Linked DNA regions of Homo sapiens: regions 1, 2 and 3 are each linked to region 4. The links are contacts of gene promoters, found by promoter capture Hi-C in blood cells and fetal thymus (Javierre and others, 2016). All regions are on one chromosome and are shown on one strand. The core of a region is centred on a gene start or on the middle of the fragment in contact, and the rest is flanking DNA. Distances in the headings are between cores, read along the strand shown. Region 1 has its middle 3.0 kb from the start of TMED4. Region 2 overlaps OGDH (oxoglutarate dehydrogenase). Region 3 has its middle 16 kb from the start of DDX56. Region 4 holds the start of PURB (purine rich element binding protein B).

Region 1 (4,073 bases), core at 1,049-3,548, 300 kb before region 4:
ATAAGTAGGGTCATGGAGCTTGTTTACATCCCCTAGTTACAGCACATCCTTTTGAAAGTGAAAAACAAACTGGAATGTTACTTAGTGGGCATGGAATCGAAGCAACGGAAGGTTAAAACTGTTTTTATCAAGGCCAGGCGGGCGCGGTGGCTCACGCCTGTAATGCTAACACTTTGGGCGGCCAAGGCTGGTGGATCATCTGAGGTTAGAAATTCGAGACCAGTTGGGCCAACAAGGTGAAACCCCCGTCTCTACTAAAAATACATTTTATCAACAGAATTTCGAAACTTTTATATAATAGAATAATTACAATGAACTTTCATAAAGAACTTGAGCATACCTGGATTTTGGTATCCGTAGGGGTCCAGGAATTATCCCCCTTGGATAATAACGGAGGGCTGTACTCATCATCCAACTTCAACAACAGTTTGCTGCCTTTCTCATTTCATGTATCCCTTTCTGCATTTTTTTTTGAAGTGCTGTATATTAAAGCAAATCCTGGACATCATGTCATTTCACCTATAAATACGTCAGTGTGTGTCTCTAACAGATAAGGACTTTATACTATTATCACACCCACCAAAATTTTAAAAATTATTTAACATCACTTAATACCTAGTATGTGTTTAATTTTCCCCATTGCCTTAAAAAATTTTGTACATTAGATATTTAGGGTCCAAACAAGGTTTACTTACTGCATTTCATACAAATATATGTCTCTTAATATATAACAATTTTGGCTGGGCACAGTGGCTCATGCCTGTAATCCCAGCACTTTGGGAGGCTGAGGTGGAAGGATCACTTGAGGTCAGGAGTTTGAGACCAGCCTGGCCAACATGGTGAAACCCTGTTTCTACTAAAAATACAAAAATTAGCCAGGTGTGGTGGTGCACACCTGTAATCTCAGCTACTTGGGAGGCTGAGGCAGGAGAATTGCTAGAATCAGGGAGGTGGAGGTTGCAGTGGGCTGAGATGATGCCACTGTACTCCAGCCTAGGCAACAGAGTGAGATTCTATCTCAAAACAAACAAAAACAGGGCCGGGCGCAGTGGCTCACACCTGTAATCCCAGCACTTTGGGAGGCCAAGGTGGGCAGATCACGAGGTCAGGAGTTCGAGACCAGCCTGGCCAATATGGTGAAACCCTACCTCTACCAAAAATACAAAAATTAGCTGGGTGTGGTGGTGCTCACCTGTAGTCCCAGCTACTTGGGAGACTGAGGCAGAAGAATCGCTTGAACCCAGGAGGCAGAGGTTGCAGTGAGCCGAGATCATGCCACTGCACTCCAGCCTGGGTGAGAGAGAGACTCGTGTCCAAAAAAAAAAAAACAAACCATATAACAACATATATATATATTATACATATTATATATATATTATATATATAAATTTCCCCTCTCTTTTTGTTGTTTGTTATTCATGGCATTTACTTATTGAAGAAACTGGGTCATTTGACCAACAGAATTTTCCACTTTCTGGGTTTTGCTGATTGTATCTTCAGGTGTCATTTAACGTTTTTTGTCCCTGGTATGTCCTGTAATCACAGTTAATTCTAGAGTCAGGGGAGGTTTACAGTGAAACTAATGAAGCTTAATCTTCAGGCCCTCCCTTGCATAGACCCCCGTACCTAATTTCGCATTTATAATTTTGTGTCTTTTTCTTAAAGAGGACTGTGAAATTTGTATAGTTTAAGGCCCCACAAAGCTTGGATTTGCCCCTGGCTAGAAGCTTCATTAGGTTTAGGTGTAATGTTGAGGTTTGGGTTTTTTTGTTTTGTTTTGTTTGCAATAACGCTTCGTGGCTGGCACTATGTACTTCTACTGAGGCACAAGGCGGGTTTGTCTCTTAGTAATATTGTAATTCATCTCTCAATTTGGGGGTTGTCATCCTGATTATCCATGAAGTTTACCATCAGCCTTTCTTCTAATAGTCTAGCAAACGTTGATGATCATTAGACCATTGGTTCTCAACGAGGGTTGATTCTGCCCTGTCCTACCAAGGGGAAATTTGGCAATGTCTGGAGATATTTTGGATTGTTGCAACTGGGTGGGGGGTGGCGGGTGGTACTGCTGTTATCTAGAAAATGAATGCAAGGAATACTGCTAAACATTGTATAATTCACAGAGCACACCTCCCCCCCACAGCGAAGAATTATCCAGCTCAAAATGTCAGTAGTACCCAGGTTGAGAAACCCTAGTGTAGTTTTATGATGTTCCTTAGGTGTGCAAAGTGGTAATTTCAAATGCTCTCATTTCTCCTGCATTTATAAGATGAGATTCTTCTACAAAGGTGAGCATTCCCTCATCTCTCTGGTTACTTTGAAATACAATCCATTCGGGATAGCCAGGATGTATGCTTGATGCTTTCCCACGCACAGTGGCTCTGCCTATAATCCCAGCACTTTGGGGGGCCAAGACAGGAGGACTGCTTGAGCCCAGGAAATGGCAAGATCTTTACAAAATATGTAAAAATTAGACAGGCATGGTGATGCATGCCTGTAATTCCCGCTACTTAGGAGGCTGAGGCAGGGAAATGGCTGGAGCCCAGGAGGTTGAGGATACAGTGAGCCGTGATGGGACGACAGCACTCTAGCATGGGTGACTGAGTGAGACCTTGTCTCAAATAATAGTAATAATAATAAAGATGGATGGATGGATGCCCCAGCAACCTCTAACTGTGACCACTTTGGGTTCTTTGGGGAGAAGGGGCAGTGCTATCATGAATTGATGGATGTTTAGATATTTGATGTGCTTTAATCCATTACAGTCATTGTCCTTTTTTAAATGTTCAGATTGTCTCATCAAATATTTAGTTGCTGCTGTGTCCTTCTGGCACAATCCTAGTAATCCACAATCCTAGTAGTCTTTAGGTCAAGCTTGTCCAACCTGTGGCCCATGCAGCCCAACACAAATTCATAAACTTTCTAAAAACATTATGAGATTTTTTTTTTTTTAGCTCATCAGCTATTGTTAGTGTATTTTATGTGTGGCCCAAGACAATTCTTCTTCTTCCAGTGTGGCCCAGGAAAGCCAAAAGATTGGACACCCTGGACTTCCTTGCTTTCCGTTTTATACATTTACTGCCCAGAAACAAAACCAACCATTTCTCCAAGGAACCCTAATTCACTTTAGTGAGAAATGGTATTTGTATTGGCAAACTTATTTTCTTTCTTTTTTTTTTTTTTTTTAAGGAGGATCCTGAAATTTGTCTTAACTGAGAGATAATATTAAAGAGATTGTATTCTCCACTGCAGAAAATTTAACTTAGGAGGTGAGGCACTGTGGCTCATGCCTGTAATCCCAGCATTTGGGAGGCCGAGGCAGGAAGATCGCTTGAGTCCAGAAGTTCAAGACCAGTCTGGGCTACATGGTGACACCCTGTCTCTACCAAAAAAAAAATTAGCTGGGCATGGTGGCATGGGCCTGTAGTCCCAACTACTCGGGAGGCTGAGGTGGGAGGATTGCTTGACCCCCAGGAGGTTGAGGCTGCAGTGAGCTGTGATGGTGCTGCTGCACTCCAGCCTGGGCAACAGAGTGAGACCCCATCTCCAAAAAAGAAAGAAAATTTAACTTAGGGAGTCTAATTCCCCAGATGAGAGATTTTTCTGCTCAGAAGCCATGAAGCAATTTCTGCCGATGTTTGTCTAGGCTCTTTGTCTAGACCAGCCACCCCGTCCTTCATTTGTTCAACCAGTATGTGCTGTGCAGCCATTTGTGCCAGCCACTGTTCTAATGGGAAAACACAGGTGACCAAAACAAAAATCCTTGTCTAGGCCAGGCGCAGTGGCTCACGCATGTAATCCCAGCACTTTGGGTGGATCATCTGAACTCAGAAGTTCAAGACTAGCCTGGACAACATGGCAAAACCCCGTCTCTACCAAAAATACAAAAAATTAGCCAGGCATGTGGCAAGCACCTGTAGTCCCAGCTTCTCTGGAGGCTGAGGTGGGAGGATCACTTCAGCCTGGGAGGCAGAGGTTGCAGTGAACCGAGATTGTGCCACTGCACTCTAGGCCTGGGTGAGAGTGAGGCTCTGTCTCAAAAAACAAGAACAACAGCAACAAAAATCCTTGTC
Region 2 (3,947 bases), core at 1,431-3,930, 260 kb before region 4:
ATTCCTCTTTAGACGTGGAACTCTAGTTGTCCCAGCACCTTCAGTTGAAAAGACTGTTCTTTTCCCTGCTGAATGGAGTTGGCACCCATTTAAATAGAAATATTCTTTTAAAGCAAGCTTGTCCAACTCCCAGCCCGTGGGCCACATGTGGCCCAGGACAGCTTTGAATGTGGCCCAACACAAGTTTGTAAACTTTGTTAAAACATTATGAGATGTTTTTGCGATTTTTTTTTTTTTAAAGCTCATCAGCTGTCGTTAGTGTTAGTGTATTTTATGTGTGGCCCTAGACAATTCTTCCAATGTGGCCCAGGGAAGCCAAAATATTGGACATCCCTGTTTTAAACCAAAAATCAAAACACTTGGATATTTTGGACAGCTCAGAGGAGCTTTCACAAAAATTGTTTAAACAATTGAATGTCTCTACCAAATAACGTACTATTCTTAAAGTTGACTTAGTGTCAGTTACAGAATTCTAAGTTGAATTTCAAGACCTAATGTTGACTGGCTGGCAGTTTTCCTTCTTTTTGTATTTAATATATTTTGTTTGTTTGTTTGTTTTTAGAGATAGGGTCTCGCTCTGTCACCCAGGCTGGAGTGGAGTGGCACGATCATAGCTTACTGAAGCCTTGACCTCCTGGGCTCAGGCTATCCTTCCACCTCAGCCTCCGGGGTAGCTGGTACTACAGACATGTGCCACCACACCCTGATAGCTTTTAAATTTTTTGTGGAGATGTGGTTTCACTATGTTGCCCGGGCTGGTCTCAAACTCCTGGCCTCAAACAATCCTTAAGCCTTGGCACCCCAAAGTGCTAGGATTATAGGCATGAGCCACCGTGCTTGGCTTTTAATATCTTCTTATGCCGTTTTATGTAAGAGAGAAAGGTGAAGAATGGGTATTTACCAGAATTAGAAATGTGCGTTAGTGTTGGCTCTGTCGTTCTGTCAAAGTGTGGACAGCAAATAGCTGTCCTGGCCGTTCCTGGGTGGAGTTGGGGATGTTGAGCCATCTGCTGAAGGGCAGCTCTTCCCGTGAGTCATCTTAAGGGAAGTTTAAAAATCTCAGCTGGGTGTGGTGGCTCACGCCTGTAATACCAGCACTTTGGGAGGCTGAGGTGGGCAGATCATGAGGTCAGGAGTTTGAGACCAGCCTGGCCAACATAATGAAACCCTGTCTCTACTAAAAATACAAAAATTAACCAGGTGTGATGGCATGCACCTGTAGTCCTAGCTACTCGGGAGGCTGAGGCAGGGGAATTGCTTGAACCTGGGATGGGAGGTTGCACTGAGCCGAGATCACACCACTGCACTCCAGCCTGGACTACAGAGCAAGACTCCGTATCAAAAAAAAAAAATCTCCAGCTGTTGTGGCAGCTCTGCTGGGCAGCACTTAACTATGTGTCAGATTCAGTGACTGCGGATAGCAAAATGTCATGATTTACTTAAACAGGATCATGTGGAAGGGGCCACTTTGGGAAGAACAGATGAAATTGGTGTTTTACGATTGTCAGTTCAGTGCCTGTTAATTGGGCTATTGCAGCAACTGAATACTGATAGTTAATGAGGTGATGCTATTGTTTTCTGGGAGAAAACCCAACTCAGAGGCAATTGGGTATTTAATATTGCCTTAATAATGACATTAAAGGAAAAAAATGAACATTTTCCTTTGAGCCTGAGAAATTAAAAAAAAAATAGCATAAAATGAAGCAACAGTAGTATTTTTGCTGTCAATGTTAGGGCTGTTTGTCTTCCTTAAATATATCAGTGGAAAAACTTGGAGTGTAGTTGGAGGTAGGAAGAACTACCGAATTAACTTAAAACTTTTGATTTCTAAAGTGAAAACCCAGGGGTAAAGATTGCATTCCCTAATTATATCCAGAATATATTGCTTGTTTACCTTTAATTTGTAAGGAGCAAGTTTTTGTTTGTTGTTCAGTTTGTTTTTAAAGAATATGTTCTGCTGTTTACTTTTGCTGACCTATCTCTTCTCAGTGGAGCAGGCCAGAGGTGAATGCAGGACACTCTAAGCCCTCTCTCTTGGTGTCCCTTAAGTGTATTCTGAGCATATTTGGGCCAAGAGGAAGTTTCTGATAAATAATATAGAAGATATTTTTATGTAACAGTTATTTCTGGGTAATTCACACTATGTTTCAGAGCTTGGATTTTCTTCGGGTAGGTGTGGACATGGAGTGTAGTTCTAACTTTACAACCAGAGCACCTGCTTTGAGACAAATTCATGAGCAACCATGTAGGCCAGCAAGCACCTTTTTTTCCACAGGCAGCGTCCTTGTGAACTTTCCGCTTGGATCCTGACTCTGCTGTTAGTAGCCTATGACCTTGGATGAAATGTAAGGGAATAGAAACTGAAGCTATCTGTAAAGTGAAAGAGCTGGTGCCTGCCTTATTGGGAGCCTCTGGGTTTATGTATGAGTCAGATGCGTAGAGTTGCTCACCATGGAGGGCCCAGGGTAGGCAGGCATTATTGAACAACTGCTCCATGTGCTCTTTTCAATCTTTGCAGACCCCACCCACGTCTCCCTTGCTCAGACCTGGCTCCCCATGGCTTATGAAAGGGGGCTGAGTGCAGAAGGTGGCAGGCAGGACACTGGACAACCCTCTGTGGCTTTTCCTTACCCTTCGTAGTACCATGAGATTCTGGCTCTTCCCGTCTCTGTGTTTCTGCCTATGGGTCCTTCCACATGCAGTGCCTCGTCTTCCCTCCTTCCCATCCATGTCCTTTTGTCTTCAGGCACACCCACTTGGAAGGAGCCCATCCTCTCACAGGGTCTGCTGGCATATTCTGCACCTCTCAAGTACTCATATTTCCTCTGCAATCTTTTCTATGTTGTTTTTCCTCTGCTCAAGGGTAAATTGAGAGTAAGGAAAGTATTTTTCTAATTTCTTTGTATTTTCCATAATATTGTAAGTACAGCAGGTACTCAGTAGTTTCTGGACAGATTAGAAAATGTTTTACTTATTCTCCAATTAATCCTAATCCTAATTCTAAATTAATTAATCCTTGTTGCCTTTCTTCTAATTGTTTTATATATATGTAATATGTAAATTTAAAGAACATCGTATGTTTATCATCTTAGCCCTTAAACTAGATTTAATGGTTTTTTGTTTTGTTTTGTTTTGAGACAGAGTCTCACTCTGTTGCTAGGCTGGAGTGCAGTGGTGCAATCTCGGCTCACTGCAGCCTCCACCTACCAGGTTCAAGCAATTCTCCTGCCTCAGCCTCCCAAGTATCTGGGTCTACAGGCATGCACCACCACACCCAGCTAATTTTTGTATTTTTAGTAGAGATGTGGTTTCACCATGTTGGCCAGGATGGTCTTGATCTCCTGACCTCGTGATCCACCCGCCTTGGCCTCCCAAAGTGCTGGGATTACAGGTGTGAGCCACCGAGTCTGGCCTAGATTTAAATTTTTAAGTGAAGATGGTAATATCTGCAACTGTGCACTCACCTTCCTTGGGCTCGCACAGGCATCCTGTGTTAGTAGGTGCAAGAGTGTGTTTCAGTTTCACACAGTCACAGCTCTGTTGTGCTCTCAGGCACATGAACTGGTGGCACTGAGCAGGTAGCACTCTTGTGAATACATTTATAGGCCAGGGTCTTTCTCCTCAACAATTAGAGTTGAACATGTTTTGTTTTTGTTTTTGTTTTTCTAGTAGCTTTTAAAAAAAAATTATCCTTTCTCTAGAGCATCAGGATCTAGTAGCCTTGTCTCCTAAATACTCATTTTTAAAACCTTTCTTTCTTGTTTTTTTTTTTTTTTTTTTGTACAGGCAGTTGTGAAAAACTTCAGGACAAAAATGTTTCATTTAAGGACTTGTGCTGCTAAGTTGAGGCCATTGACGGCTTCCCAGACTGTTAAGACATTTTCACAAAACAGACCAGCAGCAGCTAGGACATTTCAACAGATTCGGTGCTATTCTGCACCTGTTGC
Region 3 (3,887 bases), core at 1,387-3,886, 330 kb before region 4:
GGCCAGCCTAACCAACATGGCAAAACCCCGTCTCTACTAAAAATGCAAAAATTAGCCGGGCGTGGAAATTAGCCAGGCACCACACCTGGCTAATTTTTGTATTTTTAGTAGAGACAGGGTTTTGCTATGTTGGCCAGGCTGGTCTTGAACTCCTGACCTCAGTTGATCTGCCCACTTCTGCCTCTCAGAGTGCTGGGATTACCGGCACGAGCCCACCATGCCCAGGGGAGATACTTTCTTTTTTATATTTTGAGATAAGAAAAGCTTTATTTAAAGTCAACTGGCAAGGAAGGAGGGAATGCTCAATCTCTTTTCCTGAGCTAGGGGTTGGGTTGGGTTTTATAAGCACAGGGTAATAATGAGGCATGATCTAATTGGATCTCACAATGAGGTGATGCTGGAAGGTAATATCTGACTGGATCCTGCCGTGGGGTGATGCCAGAGCTTGATCTGATTGGATCCTGGATCCTGCCATGTGGTGTGTGGTGTCCGATGTTTTGTTTTTTAACTTTGTTTTTTGTTTTTTTGAGACAGAGTCTCGCTTTGTCACCCAAACTGGAGTGCAGTGGAGCGATCTCAGCCTACTGCAAACTCTGCCTCCCAAGTTCAAGCAATTCTCCTGCCTCAGCCTCCTGAGTAGCTGGGATTACAGGCATGGACCACCACACCTGGCTTTTTTTTTTTTTTTCCTTTTTTGGTAGAGACAGGGTTTCACCAAGTTGGGCAGGCTGGTCTCAAACTCCTGACCTCAAGTGATCCGCCCACCTCGGCCTCCCAAAAGGCTGGGATTACAGGCATGAGCTACCATGCCTGGCCTTGTTTTTTAACTTTTATTTTACATTAAGTTGTACATATGCAGGTTTGTTATATAGGTAAACTTGTGTCACGGGGGTTTGTTGTACAGATTATTTTCTCGCCCAGGTACTAAGTCTAGTACCCAATAGTTATTTTTCCTGCTCCTCTCCCTCCTCCCACCCTCCACTGGGTTCCAGCATCTGTCGTTCCCCTCTTAGTGCCTATGAGTTCTCATCATTTAGTGAGAGAATATAAGTGAGAATATGTGGTATTTTGTTTTCTGTTCCTGCGTTAGTTTGCTAAGGATAATGGCCTCCAGCTCCATCCATGTTCCTGCAAAGGACATAATCACATGTCTTTTTTTATGTCTGAATAGTATTCCATGACATATATGTACATTTTCTTTATCCAATCTGTCATTGATGGGCATTTAGGTTGATTCCATGTCTTTACTATTGTGAATAGTGCTGCAATGAACAGACGTGTGCATGTGTCCTTATGGCAGAACAACTTACATTCCTTTGGGTATATACCCAGTAATGGGATTGCTGGGTCGAATGGTAGTTCTGCCTTTAGGTCTCTGAGGAATTGCCACGCTGCTTTCCACAATGGTTGACCTAATTTACACTCCCACCAACACTGTACAAGTGTTCCCTTTTCTCTATGACCTTGCCAGCATGTTATTTTTTCTTTTTTTTACTTTTTAATAATAGCCATTCTGGCTGATGTGAGATGGTATCTCATTGTGGTTTTGATTTCTGTTTCTTTAATGATCAGTGATATTGAGTTTTTTTTCAAATGTTTGTTGGTTGCATGTATGTCTTCTTTCGAAAAGTGTCTAGGAATGAGATACTGTCACCACTTCTATTCAACATAGTGTTAAAAGTTCTAACCAGAGCAATTTGGCAAAAATGAAATGAAAAGAAAAGAGAAAAGAGAGAAAGAGAGAGAGAGAAAGAGAGGGAGAGAGGGAGGGAGGGAAAAGGGAAGGGGAAGGGAAAGGGGAAGGGGAGGGAGGAAGGAAAAGAGTGTCCAAATTAGAAAAAAATTAAACTTATCTCTATTTGCAGATAGATTTTATATTCTAAAACAGTAAATACGCCACTGAAAATGTATTATAACTTGTCTGAGTGTGGTGGAGCATGCCTATAATCCCAGCACTTTGGGAGACTGAGGCAGGACAATCACTTGAGCCCAGGAGTTTAAGACCAGCCTGGGCAACAACGTGAGACCCCATCTCTACAAAAAATAAAATAATTAGCCAGGCATGCTGGCATGCCTGTAGTCCCAGCTATTCAGGAGGCTGAGGCAGGAGGACTGTTTGAGTCCTGGCAATGGAGACTGCAGTGAGCTATAACCGTGCCACTGCACTCCAGCCTAGACAACAGGGTGAGACCCTATCTTGAAAATTTTTTTTAATAAAAAAAATTACTAGAACTAATAAATGAACTTGGCAAAATTATAGGATACAAAATCAATACACAAAAATCAGATGCATTTCCTTCCTTCCTTTCCTTTCCCTCCCTCCCTCCCTCTCTCTCTCTCTCTCTTTTTCTTTCTTTTCTTCTTTCTTTCTTCCTATCTGTCTTTTTTCTTTTTGAGACAGGGTCTCACTTTTTCACCCAGGCTGGAGTGCAGTGACACGATCATCACTAACTGCAGCCTTGACCTCCCAGGCTCAAGCAGTTCTCCCACCGTAGCCTTCGGAGTAGCTAGGAGGGACTACAGGTGCTCATCACCATGCCTAGCTAATCTTCCCCCTCCCTCCTTCTCCTCCCCCCTCCCCCCTCCCCCCTCCCCTCCCCTCCCCTCTCCTTTCCTTTCCTTGACAGGGTCTTGATCTGTCGCCCAGGCTGGAGTGCAATGGCGTGACTCAGCTCACTGCAACTTACGCCTCCCCAGTTCTAAGTGATTCCCTTGCCTCAGCCTCCCGAGTAAGTAGAATTACAGGTGTGCCACCATGCCCAGCTAATTTTATATTTTTAGTAGAGACAGGGTTTCACCATGTTGGCCAGGCTGGTCTCGAACTCCTGACCTCAGGTGATCCACCCGCCTTAGCCTCCCAAAGTGCTGGGATTACAGGCGTGAGCCACTGCACCCAGCCCCTGGCTAATTTTTTTAATTTTTATTTTTAGAGATGGCATTTCACTGTGTTGCCCAGGCTGGTCTTGAACTCCTGGCCTCAAGTGATCCTCACTCTTCAGCCTCCTGAATTGCTGGGATTATAAGTGAGGGCCACCATGCCTGACTTTAGCACCACTTATCTTGACACATGAAAAAGATAAACCATTCTGTTCCCACTGTTCCTGCCATCTGGTGGTCTCTTACTTGCAGCTGTATACACTCCTAACTGATGTACCTGTAATTCCCTGCTGTCCACCACCTGACTATTAGCACCCCTTCTCCTACTGTTGCCCCACAGCAGAGTCCTCAACCTCAACACTACGGACATTTTCAACCACAGAACTCTCTTGTGGGGGCTGCCTTGTACATTGCATGATTTTAACAGTATCCCCGGCCTCTTCCCACCTAAAGCCAGTAGCATCCATTGCCCAGATATGATAACCTAAAATGTTTCTTGGCTGGCACAGTGGCTCACACCTGTAATCCCAGCACTTTGGGAGGCTGAGGCGGGCAGATCACTTGAGGTTAGGAGTTCATGACCAGCCTGGCCAACATGGTGAAACCCCATCTCCTAAAAATACAAAGATTAGCTGGGTGTGGTGGCACATGCCTGTAGTCCCAACTACTTGGCAGGCTGAGGCAGGAGAATCACTTGAACCCGGGAGGTGGATGGAGGTTGTAGTGAGCCAAGAACACACCACTGCACTCCAGCCTGGGCAACGGAGCAAGACTCTGTCTCAAAAAAAAAAAAACAACAATATTTCTATACTTTCCCAAAAGCCCCACTGGGGCAAATCTGGCCAAGAACCACCACCCTGCAGGAAGCCTGTGCTAAGCCAACTAATCTGCTCCCTCCACCCAGCTCTGCTATAACCAAGCCAAGCCTGTCTCTCAGGCTTCTCCGGGCCTTCCCAACGCCTGCGCATACAATCTCCTTGGCAGTGAGGATTTCTACCACCACCCAGGCC
Region 4 (4,370 bases), core at 619-3,118:
CTCCAAGCATTGCTATCTGAATCCACTGGCATCCTGGAAAACAATTCTGCGAAGAAAAGACATTTGCCTTGGTCCAGGTTCCATGCAAAACCATTTTTTTAAAAAAATGGATCCAATTTGGTTCTGTATTCTTAGATGGCTTCTTGAAATCTTATCTTTAACCTGTTCATGATTATCCCAAGTTGCATTTCTTTTCGTGAACCTGAACCCTCAGAACTGGGTAATTGTAAAGGCCTCTCTTCTCAAGGATTCCATGAAGACCTAGATCCAAAATGCTGATTTCAATGGAGGTGAAGGGATAGACACCGCAACAGTGAGGCCTAGAGAGATCTTTTATGCCAGATTACCCAGGTGCAACCTAAATGCAACTGTTATCAATGGTCTGGGTAACTTGGACATGTTTCTTGCCCTGGATGTGCAAGGATCTATTCCCTCCAGGGATTATCCTGATGGGTTTACGAACCTCAGTTGAGAAACAACAGAAGCTGAGACAATTTTACGCAGGTGAGGAGATGCTGTTTTCCTCTTTGCAGGTTGCTGTCAGTTCCTTGGAACTTGACTGCTTTTCTCAAGTTGTCCGTCACTGTTCTCTTACGATTATTTCTCTTAACTGTGTTACGTTTTGTTTTTTCCCTCTGCGGCCTCCCTTGCTCCCTCTCCACTAGCTCACTGGGGATGAGCAGGAAAGGGAATTCTCTAGCCAAGGGGATGGTGGTTGGGTGGAGGCCTGTAGGGGAAGCTGCCCGTTTCAATCCTCATCCACCTCCTCACCCTCTGACTCTTCGCCGCCGCCGCTGCCCCCACCACGTCGCTCATAAAGCTTATCCCTCTGTCGTTCCTGGATTTCTTTCATCTCATCCGCATACCGGCAAAAGGCGCCTCCGAACTTGCCCCAGGCTTTGAAGGGTACGGTGATGGCATTGCGGTAGGACGGCTTCACCTCGCTCACTCGCAGAAACACCCCGTATTTGTTGCAGCCCACATCGAAGAAGAAGCGCTTGGAGTCCACGGTGATGGAGGTGCCCTCCGGGAGCTCTCCATACAGGCCGCCCCCTGGGCCCCCGGCGCCGCCTCCCGGGCCGCCTGCCAGCTCGTCGTCCTCGCCTCCGTAGTCGTCTATGAGCTTCGCCAGCGCGTCGCGGAACTCGATGAGGCCCTGCGCAGGCAGCGCGATGGTCTGGCCGCTCTGCAAGCCGCCCGGCCCGGGGCCCGCGCCGAAGCCGCCACCGCCGCGGTTGACCGTTTGGCGGATGCGCAGGAAGCGGCCGCGCTGGTTCTCCTTGAGGTCCAGGTAGTACTTGCGGTTCTCACGCACCAAGAATTCGCTCTTGAGCGCGCGCCGCGGCCCGCCGCCCTCCTCGGCGCCAGCCGCCAGCTGCTCGGGGCTGCTAGGGCCCAGCTGCGCGTAGTGTTCTATGAAGTCGCCCAGCGAGTCGCGGAACTCGGCGGCCACCGCCATGGACAGCGTGAGGCGGCTCTTGGAACCGCCCGCGCCCACCTCGGCGATCTTGAGGAAGCGGCCCTTGGCGTTCTGCTTCACATCTAAGTAGAAGCGCTTGTTCTGGATGTCCAGCCGCTTCGAGGCCAGCTCCTGCGTCTCTTGCTCGCCGCCGCCGCGGGACGCGGGCTGGAACCCGCACGGCCCACCGCCGCCGCCGCGCTCGCTGCCGCTGTCGCCGTCCGCCATCTTCTAGGCCGCCGCCTCGCCGCCACCGCCCGCCGCGCTCGCGCCCCCGCCCTCCGGCTCGCGCTCCGGGGCCCCCCAGCCTCGCCCGCCCGGCTCGCTCACGCGCTCCCGCCGCTCATCGCCGGCCGCCGCCGCCCCCCCATCGCCTCCGCGCCCCGCCCCCGCGACTTCCGTGCAGCCCTAGCCACTTCCGGCGCGCGATTTCCCGTGAAGTCACTCCGTCCCGCCCTCCGCGGCCTCGCGGCCGGAAGCGCCGCGGCGGCGTGGCGCAGAGGGGTGACGTCAGGGGCCGCGCCGGGCGGGCGGCAAGCTGAGAGTAGGCTAGTGTTACTGCTCGGTTTCTAGCCCTGGGGACTTGCCAGCCTTAGCGTGACTCAGCCGCCCGCTGCGTCTGTCTACGCGCCTCTTCCCGTGACACTTTTACTTTAGACTCCGGTGTCGTCCACTTCCCTCCTTCTCGCTTCCGGGGCGTTAGCTGAGCATACTCAGGCCCCAGCCTGCTCGCGCTGGTTGTGTGCTGGGAACAGAGTTCCAGTCTATACACTGGCGACCGGGGGGAGGGAGATCCTTTGGAGCACTCGGAAGCGGGTTCTGACCAGCCTGTGGGGTTCCCTAGAGGAGGCATGAGCTGACTCTGAAGGGCAAACTGCAGTTGGCCTGGCAACTCTGGAGAAGAGCCACCCAGCATAGGAGACGGCAGTGCAGAGGCACCCAGGGCCTGATGCTGGGAGCTCAGAGCAGCTGGGGGTGTGTATGCCTGAAGAATGGTCGTAGATGACACTGGAGGGTGGATTAGATCAAGGAAAGCCATTTGCAGTGCGGGAGAGTTAGTGCCTACCCCAGAGTCTGGAGCCACCGTATGTGATCAGGTTCACATTTTGGAAAGATCACTGTGGGAACAATATAGAAAGAAGATGATTTAGGATGAGGTTAGATTTGGGATCCAGAGATCAGTTAACTGTCCCCACAGTTAGCCATATTAAAGTGGTTAAGGAAATTGACTGCCAATCTTTAGTTTCTTTATCAATAAAATGAATAATTCCTATGAGGTCTTTTTGTTGTAAGCATTGAGGTGTAACAAGAGGCAGAATTGGAATAGTGTTAAAAAGTGTAGGCTCTGCAACTGCACTGGGTTTGAATCTGTGACCTTGACCAGTTACTTGATTTTCCAAAGCCAAAATGTCCTCATCCTTAAATTTTTTTTTTTTTTTTTTTGAGTCTTGCTCTGTCACCCAGGCTGGAGTGCAGTGGCGTGATTTTAGCTCATTACACCCTCCACCTCCCGGGTTCAAGCAATTCTCCTACCTCAGCCTCCTGAGTAGCTGGGATTACAGGCAACCGCCACCACACCCGGCTAATTTTTGTATTTTTAGTAGAGATGGGGTTCCACAATGTTGGCCAGGCTGGTCTTGAACTCCTGACCTCAGGTGATCTGCCCGCCTCAGCCTCCCAAAGTGCTGGGATTACAGATGTGAGCCACCACACCCAGCCTAAATGTAGTTATTCATAGATAGTGAATCCAACAATGGACTTGTAAAGAACACAAATAATAGATAACCCAATATAAAAGGTGAAAGATTTTAACAGACACTTCGTCAAAAAAGCCAGTAAGCACATGAAACAGTGCTCAACATTATTCATCATTAGGGAAATATAAATTAAAGTCAGAATGAAATACCAACTAGAATGGCTAAAATTAAAAAATGTAACATCAAGTGTTGAGAAGGATGTGAAGAAACTGGAACTCATACATTGCTAGTAAGGATATAAAATGGTATAAATGCTTTGGGAAACAGTTTGGCAGTTTCTTATATACCTTTCATAAAATAAGACCCAACATTTCCACTTTTTTTTTTTTTTTGAGCAGTCTTGCTCTGTTGCCCAGGTTGGGGTGCAGTGGAACAATCTTGGCTCACTGCAACCTCTGCCTCCTGGGTTCAAGCAATTCTCCTGCTTCAGCCTCCTAAGTAGCTGGGACTATAGCCATACCCAGCTCATTTTTTGTATTTTAGTAGAGATAGGGTTTCACCGTGTTGCTCAGGCTGGTCTCGAACACCTGAGCTCAGGCAATCCACCCACCTCGGCCTCCCAAAGTGCTAGGATTACAGGCGTGACCCACCGCAGCCAGCCTCCACTTCTAGGTATTTACCCGAGGGAAGTGAAAGTATGATCACACAGTTTGTATGACCCCATTTATATAAAAGTATATGAAAGAGGAAGGTGTGTGTGTATGTGTCTGTGTGTGTGTGTGTCAGAGAGCAAATCAGTAGTTGCCTGGGCCTGAATATGGAGGGACAGATTGGAAAGGGTAATACAAGGAAACTTTTAAGGGTGATGTATTCTGTGTCTTGTTTATGGTAGTGATTTCACAGATTTGCCAAAACTCATTCAAATGTAGTTTATTATAGAGAAATTAGACCCCAATAAAGTAATTATTATTATTTTGAAAAGACACGAATCAAAGAGGATGTTGGGGACAACTGCACTAAAAAAAAAAATACCTTGTAGGGTTGTTGGGCAGTAATCCTTGAAACATGTTTAGCGTAATGCCTGAATTACAGTGAGTGCTCAATAAATGTGAATTCGGGTGCATCCACATGGGTCAGTAGTAATTAGGTGTGGGAGCTGCCAGCAGGTAGGGTGGATTTGACATCAGTTTCCTAGAAGAAGGAGAGTTCAGAGG

What was found. The method cuts DNA at HindIII sites, captures the fragments that hold promoters and counts their contacts. A CHiCAGO score of 5 or more calls a contact.
Region 1: a contact is called between a fragment that was not itself captured here and the fragment with the promoter of PURB in region 4, in 17 of 17 cell types (total CD8 T cells, naive CD4 T cells, naive B cells and 14 more). The highest score is 30.1, in total CD8 T cells.
Region 2: a contact is called between a fragment that was not itself captured here and the fragment with the promoter of PURB in region 4, in 7 of 17 cell types (monocytes, total CD8 T cells, fetal thymus and 4 more). The highest score is 9.8, in monocytes.
Region 3: a contact is called between a fragment that was not itself captured here and the fragment with the promoter of PURB in region 4, in 6 of 17 cell types (monocytes, total B cells, non-activated CD4 T cells and 3 more). The highest score is 10.7, in monocytes.

The regions. Positions count from the first base shown.
Region 1 is chr7:44,583,151-44,587,223 of GRCh38, forward strand. No RefSeq gene overlaps it. Among named protein-coding and RNA genes, the nearest start is that of TMED4, 3.0 kb to the left of the region's middle. The HindIII fragment of the contact is 1,147 bases long and covers 1,726-2,872 here.
Region 2 is chr7:44,620,531-44,624,477 of GRCh38, forward strand. OGDH (oxoglutarate dehydrogenase) reads left to right here. Exons shown (of 23, transcript NM_002541.4): 2 at 3,787-3,947. The coding sequence starts at 3,814. Among named protein-coding and RNA genes, the nearest start is that of OGDH, 16 kb to the left of the region's middle. RefSeq lists an enhancer at 2,125-2,434 and a silencer at 3,593-3,652. The HindIII fragment of the contact is 5,130 bases long and covers 116-3,947 here.
Region 3 is chr7:44,555,886-44,559,772 of GRCh38, forward strand. No RefSeq gene overlaps it. Among named protein-coding and RNA genes, the nearest start is that of DDX56, 16 kb to the right of the region's middle. The HindIII fragment of the contact is 4,749 bases long and covers 263-3,887 here.
Region 4 is chr7:44,883,662-44,888,031 of GRCh38, forward strand. PURB (purine rich element binding protein B) reads right to left here and starts at 1,869. Exons shown (of 1, transcript NM_033224.5): 1 at 1-1,869. The coding sequence starts at 1,687. The coding sequence ends at 749. RefSeq lists enhancers at 941-1,900, 2,049-2,298, 3,896-3,995 and silencers at 1,359-1,408, 1,699-2,058. The HindIII fragment of the contact is 4,558 bases long and covers 819-4,370 here.